2 separate regions of the Homo sapiens genome follow, and region 2 is linked to region 1. The links are contacts of gene promoters, found by promoter capture Hi-C in human tissues and cell types (Jung and others, 2019). All regions are on one chromosome and are shown on one strand. The core of a region is centred on a gene start or on the middle of the fragment in contact, and the rest is flanking DNA. Distances in the headings are between cores, read along the strand shown. Region 1 holds the start of PDGFRL (platelet derived growth factor receptor like). Region 2 overlaps CNOT7 (CCR4-NOT transcription complex subunit 7).

Region 1 (4,220 bases), core at 354-2,853:
TCTCATAAATGCTTATTGTTTGTATGGATTACACTTAAAGAAAGGGTAAATTTAGTCAGATGTTTGTAATAAACTCACATGGGCTGGGTGAGATCCAGGAGGCAGAATGGAAGTCAATTTCTGAGCCTCTAAGACTGGCAAGTTGGGTATAAACAAAGGAATGGCTGATTTGAAATTATTTTGCCTGGCCATCTCCTGCCCTATTCAAAAAATGATACTACAAATTACATTTCTGCCTTTTCAGCGGTTGCACACAAGGGCCTGCCAGGAGCATTTTAATATTGCATTTTACAAACTGAACTCATGGCAACTTCTCTCTGGGCAGAGTTAAGTGTTACTCTCCCAGTAGAAGCTCTGCCTACGTTTTATTAAGCAAAGCTCTAGGCTGAAGGACCCTCATGCTCAACTTCAAGTACCACGACTATCTTGGATTTTGCAAACTACAATGCGGTATTTTTTTGGCAAATGTAGTTTCCTAGGAAAGAAAGGAACTGGTCAGGATGAACGAGTGGATAAAAATGTGAGCCAGGTCGAGCTGGCTCCAGCATGAAGTTGCATAACAGCAAAAGCTACTTTTCCACTAAATCTAAGCAAAAATTGTGTTGTAGCCCAGGAATTTCAAGAGAGGGTTGAGGACACCAGGAGGCACCCAGATGAAACATGTACTGTACAAATAACACCCATGGAGTGAATAGAGCAAACAAAACATTTAAATGCTAACAATAATATATAATACACACCACAGTAATACACACACCCAGACACACAGAAAAATAACACCAGACCCTGTGGTCACGGGTGTACACGACAGGGTGGACCCAGGACAGGTACACATTCAAAAACGCGCAGCGGTCATGGTCCCATAAGCTGTACCAAAAAAATGCATTTTCTTCACCATTTCCCATCCAATTAGATAAATATAATAAGCCGTGGGCTTTTGATTCGTTTTGAAGTTTCATACACTGACATTTTTGTTCGAAGATCTAGGCAGATCTTGCAGGATTCAAGCAAAAGGTGGTAGACGAAAACACGCCCAGAACTGCGAGGGGAGGGGGAGGTCACCTGGAACTCTGCAACCGAATCAGCGATTGCCGAGCTTAGGTGGCACTCGCTCTCAGCAGCAGAGGTCCCAGCCACGCCGCTGGGAGGTGGAAGCGATCCGAGGCTCCCGCCCCACCTCCCAGACCGACACGTTGACACTGGGGGCTGGACCAGGCGCTGGCTGGGGATGCTTGGTTCGCCCGGAGATGGGGACTTGGAGAGGTCCTGGTGGGCTCCTAAGGGTCGGGGTAGCTGCCACCACCCCTAGAGGGCTCTCCGGGCAGGCAAAGAGTGGGAGGAAAGGAGACCCCACCAGGAGGGGGCAGGTGCACCGGGCAGGCAGTGGCGCGGGGGCTGAGCCACCGAGGGCCGAACGTTAGACCAAGAGCTGGCAGGAGGGCGGCGGGGGCTTCGGGTCCCGGCTAAAGTCAGGGCACAAGCTAGGTGGCCCCGCGCCCAGAGTCACTCACCATCCTCCAGCGCTTCGTGCACCAGCAGAAGACCAAGCAGCAGCCAGACCTTCATCTCGGGAACCTCGGACCTCGGAGCGCAGGAGCGCGGCGGCTGCGCGGGGCGGGGACGCAGGGGAGGCGGCGGGCGAGGGGCGGGCTCCTGGGACGCCGAAGCGGGAGGATTCGGTTTCTTCAGGAGGAACAAGGTTTGGGGGAAAAAGTTGGGGAATTTTTTTTTTTTTTAGTTCTCTGTGTAATGTGACTTCTCCTGCCCCCTGGCGGAGCCGCGGTGCGCAGCACTTCTTCCCAGCGCGGGGAGGAAAGGCTAAGCGTGAAATGTACATTACAACAGCCATTCCTTGAATTTCTCCAACGCTTGGCGTTTTCACCAAGGTTATCAAGTTCAAGAAGGATCAGCGGGTGCTGATGGGGTCACTTTTAACCACGATTGTCCAAATGTTACCAGCGCCCGCCCCACCTCCTCAGGCAGAACCTGAGTGCTCTGTAAAAAGTGCTTCCTAAATTATTTCTGTTCATTCCATTTCTCTCCCCCACATGCACTCACTCACAGGACCGTTGCCCCGGGTTCTTGCTGCTCCTCTGTGTCTGGCCAGAGTTGGTCTCCGCACCCAGCCCTGTAACTGCTGGTGGGGGTGGGAGGACGGGTTCATTACAGGAATAACGTGGAAAATGAGACTGTGCAGACAACCCGGGCCTCTGGTGGTGAGGCAGGAGAACAGGGAATTAGGGTAAGCACGGGCTAGGGTATGAGCAGGAGAACAGCAGGTGCAGCCAGTTCGCAGAAGCAAAAGATCAGCAGGTGCAGACAGTTCTAGGCATGATTAGGCGGCACACAGGCCACATCCTCGCTCCTCTGATAACAAGGCAGAAGTTTCCACTTCAGCCTCGGACTGGTCGCAGGCCAGTCCTTCGTAAGGTGTAACCAGTTGGAGGCCTCTAAAGGGAACCCAAGGGTGTTGCCAAGTTCTTTTCGCTTTATAAAATCCCTGGGGAGCGTCAGGCTCTTGTGGCTTGCTGCAGCGCCCTCTGTGAATTGTCTTCTATAAATCTACGTTTTCCTTCCTCCCTTCTGTTGCTTTGTTTTTCCTTGCTTCTTTCTTTCGTTACTCCGTGCATTTCGTTCAATTTTTTGTTCAACAGGCCAAGAACCTGGACAACTCTATCAGGTAACAGTGGGGCAGAAGATACGGGCTTTCACAAGTCCCTCTGCAGAGAGCCATCCTGCGTTTCTGAGCTTGCAGACTCTCATGATCAAAGCAGTTTGCTAGCGGGGGAGATGCCTGTGTGTGTTCCCCCGGTGAGAAGCAGCCCATCTCATTGTAATCTTCAGCACCAGGCACTGCTATTAAAGGGAGCTCAATTCTAAATAACAGGAAAGGGACTTGTCCCTCAACACCCAACGAAAGAAGTGCTGCCATTTATAACAAACTAATGCTTCTCAGTCACTTCTGCAGGAGGAACCAAGAATTCTATATTCTGTTGCCAGCTCTAGCCGGAGCTTTGCCACTCGCTTGCCTTGCGATGCAGAGAGCAGTTGGCTGGGAATAAAGACCAGAGTTCAGATGCTGACACTGGCACAAACTCTCCATGCCTCTCAGAATTCACTTAACCTTCTGGGTTTTAGCATCTCTTGTTTATTAAGAAAGGGAACTAGGTGATTATTTCAACAGGAGTTTGCTATGTGATTAACATTACGGCTATGAAGGTTGAGACATCATCTCTCATGGCTACTTTTAAGGAGTGAACAAGCATTTAGACCACTGCAATGTGGTGTGTCAGGTTCTGGGGAGAATTCTGAGCAAAGGACTTGGAGCATGCACACAGGAGAGAGTAAATCTGCCTAAATTGCCCCACCGTGAGATTTCTTTTCATTCTGACCCCATGAATTGACTGCTTAACTCTCACTCCATGTTGGAGCCTGGGGTTGGGTCTAGATTCCTCCTCTCGGTCGCAGTATCCCCTCCATGCTGACTATGCATGTGCCAGGTCCACCTCTCTTGTGCCATTATTGTCAAGCTTCACTGCCCTGGCTCAGCTACATTTAGCCGAGAGTCGTCCCTCTTTCTCTTGCCGCTTAGAGGCTCTTCTTGGGGGGCTGAGGCGAGAGAGTCATTTGAGCCTGGGAAGCGAGGTTGCAGTGAGCTGAGATGGCACCACTGCACTCCAGCCTGGGCGACAGAGAGAGACTGTCTCAAAATAAATAAATAATAAATAAATAAATAAAAGCAAAGAAGAGAGGCCTCAGAGAATACCCATTCTTCTGCCACCTTGCTCTCAGATTTCTGCCATTCAGAACTATAAGAGAATACATTTCTGTTCTTTAAACCACGCACTCTGTGGTTCTTTGCTATGGTAGCCCCAGCAAATTAATACAGGGGTCTGTATTAAGATGGGAACAGAATTCATAAGAAGTATAAGGGCTTCCCAAGACACGTAGCTATTTCATCACAAGGCTTATTATCCTTGAATGAGACAATCTCAAGATGATTTTAAATTTGAAAACAAAAACTGCCAAAGCTGTATTTTTCACAGGTCTTATTTCACTATAAAAATCCACGTGCTTTGTCTCTAGGGTGAGAAAGAATTTTATTATTAGAATGTCGTGTTGATCTTTTCCATTCCTTCTCCAACAATTACTATAATGTTAGCCAATTAAAATAAACATTATCTTGCAGCTCTAAATCAAATACAACTTGAAGCCTGCTT
Region 2 (4,123 bases), core at 1,102-3,601, 340 kb after region 1:
CTTAACACAGTCATTTAAGAGAAGTGAAAATACCTTGTTACAGTCTTATTCTTTGGATAAAGTATATGACCACCTTATGTAAAAGTGGGATGACTTGCATTACTTTTGTCTACCGAATGCCAGTTCTCTTGCTACCTTTGCTAACTCTTCTGGCCAAGTTTCCATTCATCTTTATTTCTCCATTTCCATAGTTACTTTAAAAAATATTTTGAGACATCTGTGGGCAGCTTGATACTCTTCTTGGTGTTCTCTATTCAGATATCAACAAAATAGTATTTTATTGACCATAGGCTGGTTTGGTAGTGTAGGTCTGTGTTGATATCTCTGAATAATAAAGTGATAAAGTTCTTAATACTGTAAGATGACGACATTTTCTCATAGTTCTCAATATGTTTGTTTTCTCTGTTCTTGTGTGCACTTCTCTTTAATGTTTTTGGGAGGGCTCTAGTGTGACTTGCTTAAATTTGAATCAGAAAAACTTTTTTTTTTAATCTTTATAGTATTTATATGTCCCTCTTCTCTATTCTTTTAACCCTTTTATAGCGGTTACGACTTTGGCTACTTAATCAAAATCCTAACCAACTCTAACTTGCCTGAAGAAGAACTTGACTTCTTTGAGATCCTTCGATTGTTTTTTCCTGTCATTTATGATGTGAAGTACCTCATGAAGAGCTGCAAAAATCTCAAAGTAAGGCTTCGGATGGCATTATCTACAGCAGCACACTGTTCAGACCAAGTGACTGTCATGCGAGCCTAGGCTGGGATGTTGTTTTAAACCATATTTTAAAGTATTACAGTGAATGCAATTATATTATCTGGTCATGTGATTTTTTTTCTTGCATACATAATTTGTAGGGAATCCTTTTTTCAGAGCTTCAGTATGTCTTGGCAGAAGGCAGAATTTTCAACACATTTCAGGCTTAGGTCCGGTTCTTGTCACTGCTTGCCAGATTGAAAATCACAAACCAAAACACAAATCTGAGGACATTGAGGCTCTCATATGCACGCCATTGTGAGTTGTTACTTTCTCCCAAGACGCATAGAATCTGTTCTTACAAGGTGGAATCTAAGGTGGCCAGCGATATGCAGATGTATTTAGTAGTGTGGCAAAAGTTTTTCTTTCCTTTTGGCTTATCTTGGCTAGAAATTATTTTGTCAGTTCTAGTGATAGGATAATGCTCCTAGGATTAAACTATATAGCTAAAAGATTTTTCTGTGGCCAAAAGATGTCAGCTTGTTACAGTTAAGTACTATGGGAAATGTGTAGGTCCTGCCTAGATAGTAGTAACATTTTGACGCTGCATAACATGTATTTTTAAATTCTAAACATTAATTCTTTTTTTGTTTTTGAGACGGAGCCTTGCTCTTGTCGCCCAGGCTGGAGTGCAGTGGCGTGGTCTCGGCTCACTGCAACCTCCGCCTCCCGGGTTCAAGTGATTCTCCTGCCTCAGCCTCCTGTGTAGCTGGAATTAACAGGTGTCCATCACCACACCCAGCTAAATTTCGTATTTTTAGTAGAGTCGGGGTTTTACCGTGTTGGTCACGCTGGTCTTAACAGATAACTGAAGATGAGAAGCTTTCTTTTGGCCAGTGTTTACCTTTAATACATGATATGGTCAGCATATGACTAGAGAAATTTTCAAGAAAGATTATTTTATGTTTGTAGCAGTAGACTTCTGTGTAATTTGAGGGGACTTCCAGGAAGTGAACTTGCAGTAGGGTATCCCTTGCTTGAGAAATTCAGCCCACCCTGTGAAAGCACTGCATGCTGAGGCCTACATGTTTTCATCTGACTTTTTTTTTAATTGACATGTCTGTATAATGATAGTTTTCAGGAACAGGGAACCAAATTATTGCTCATCATGTGGTTGTTACTGGGAAGTTTCTAAGTACAGATATTCTGAATGTGTCCTGAGTAAGCTGCTGTGTTAAAATTCAGGTTAACGACAAAGGTGCTTTTTGACCTATAGTCAGCCATGCTGTTCTATTCAGTTCTAGTTCTGTTCTCCTAAGCAGCTGCTAACGATACCTAATCCTCGTGCTATTTTTAGCGCAGAAGCAACTGCTGTGCAAAGCCTTGTTTCAAGCTGTGATGCACAGAAGGGCCATTTTGCCGGTGGAGGCCTTAACAAGTTAGAGAAGAATTTTTGTTTTGTTGTTGGTGTTTCTTTCCTTCACGCTCTACTTATTCTCCCCTCCCTTTACTCTCCTTGCCTGTCCTCCCACTTTCTTTCCTTCTGTTACTGTCTTTCTCTTTCTTTCTTTCCACTCTTTCCACTCTCATCTTTCTTTTTTAATCTTAGGAGTATTAACATAGGTGGATTATAGCAGACCACTCTAAGGAGTTGTGTGCATATACTCGTCTTAACTAAGAAAACCATAGTGAAGCATTTAGCATACTCTTAATGATTATTCATAATGGCTTTGTTTTGTAAAAATTAAGTGAAAACTACAAATGGATGGTGGGAAGTTTAAGAAAATATGAAAAAAATGGTGTTATACTAGCTTTTCAGTTTTATAATTATTACTGGATTGATAGACTATGAGTGTACTTGATAAATATTACCCTATATGTGGTCTGCTTCCTTCCCATATCTAGGAGAGTATTTACCTGTCATATGCCCTAAAACATGATGAAAATACATTTTCCCAATTAGGATCTTGTTTTCTATTAAATGATACTTTTTCCGCATTCAACAAATACATTAGTAATTCACATTCTCTGTTTCTTCCCCCCAATCTTTATAAGATTCACCTTTACATACTAAAGTTTATTTTTATTTTGGTCAGCGTCTAAGTTTATAATTTGTGAATTTAGGCCTTGTAAGATTTTTCTTCTTGACAAGCAATTTTTTATTTTTTCTAGGGTGGATTACAGGAGGTGGCAGAACAGTTAGAGCTGGAACGGATAGGACCACAACATCAGGCAGGATCTGATTCATTGCTCACAGGAATGGCCTTTTTCAAAATGAGAGAAGTATGAAGACATCACTGCCTTTTTCTCAGTTGGTTGTTAGGTTGAGAACATTAAAAATCTTGTGGCCAAAGATTTTGGGCAACAAGTACCTACTAAGTAAAGATATAATTAGAGATACCATATGAGTCACATCCACCACACTTAAAAGTATTCAAAAATAAGTCATCTTGAAATGTAGTTCAGAAGGAACTGGGAGAACATGTTCATCATAGAACCAACAATTTTAAAACATAAACTACCTGAGAAGTCATGTAGGTCCAACCATATTATTTCTCAGGTGAGAAAACAGGCTAATAACTTCCATGATTAAACACATTACTAGTGGGAGAACTCCAGAGTTCTTTTCTGACTCCCATTGGTGCTCCTCCTACAAGGCAAGGAATCTTTATATTAGGTTTATTCTAGCATGACCCCTTTTAAGGTTTAAACTGGTGATAAATATATTATTTGCTCATGTCATTCTTCAGTGCTTTGAAGATTTTATAGAGAAGAACTCAGGCTCTTTTACTGCATTGAGTCTTAAAAGGGGGGTTGAATTCCGAAGGGATCAAATAAATCCAACGTAGTAGTTGCATCAGAAACCATATTAGGAAAACCCTCCTTAAACGGCAAAAGGCAGAGATCAGTTCCTTGAGTATAAAGTGTTAGGGATGGAAGAATGAAACTAAATGAACCCATTATCTACTCCTAAGTAATTAAGTGATGTGCACAGATACACCTAGCTATAGGTAAACAGGAAAATTGGTTGTGCAAAAAACAAGTGAGGTTTTTCTTGACTATAAGTTTTCCCTTTTGGAAAAATTCGCTGTGGATTTGAGTATATTTTCTCTTAGACATTAAATTGAGACTGAGAATTTAAAACTTTTTGTAGCAATGTATTGATAATAGAAAGCATTAAAGCTGTTTTGCTAAGTAGTGTTGTTGATTCAGAAGTGATTTGGACTATCCATTCATGACACGTAAATATTTTGTTTTGGACTCCTTCCAATTGTTTCATTAGATAATTGAAACAACCTTTTGGATTTTTTAGCTTTGCATTTTAAAAATGTCTTAATGGTTTATTTAACTAAAGGTGGATTTCTGGCACTAATTTATCTTTATTTTTCTTGGCTTCTTCAAGGACAGTAATAGAGTGTGAATGTTTGG

Evidence for each region. Contacts are between HindIII fragments. The study calls those that stand out against the background at their distance.
Region 2: a fragment that was not itself captured here is called in contact with the fragment with the promoter of PDGFRL in region 1 in 1 of the 25 tissues and cell types used here (dorsolateral prefrontal cortex).

Annotation. Positions count from the first base shown.
Region 1 is chr8:17,574,599-17,578,818 of GRCh38, reverse strand. PDGFRL (platelet derived growth factor receptor like) reads right to left here and starts at 1,603. Exons shown (of 6, transcript NM_001372073.1): 1 at 1,512-1,603. The coding sequence starts at 1,566. RefSeq lists silencers at 1,198-1,247, 1,338-1,397. The HindIII fragment of the contact is 19,467 bases long and covers 1-4,220 here.
Region 2 is chr8:17,231,281-17,235,403 of GRCh38, reverse strand. It overlaps CNOT7 (CCR4-NOT transcription complex subunit 7), which reads left to right. Exons shown (of 7, transcript NM_013354.7): 5 at 544-688; 6 at 2,867-2,977. Among named protein-coding and RNA genes, the nearest start is that of CNOT7, 14 kb to the left of the region's middle. RefSeq lists an enhancer at 1,769-2,271. The HindIII fragment of the contact is 7,978 bases long and covers 1-4,123 here.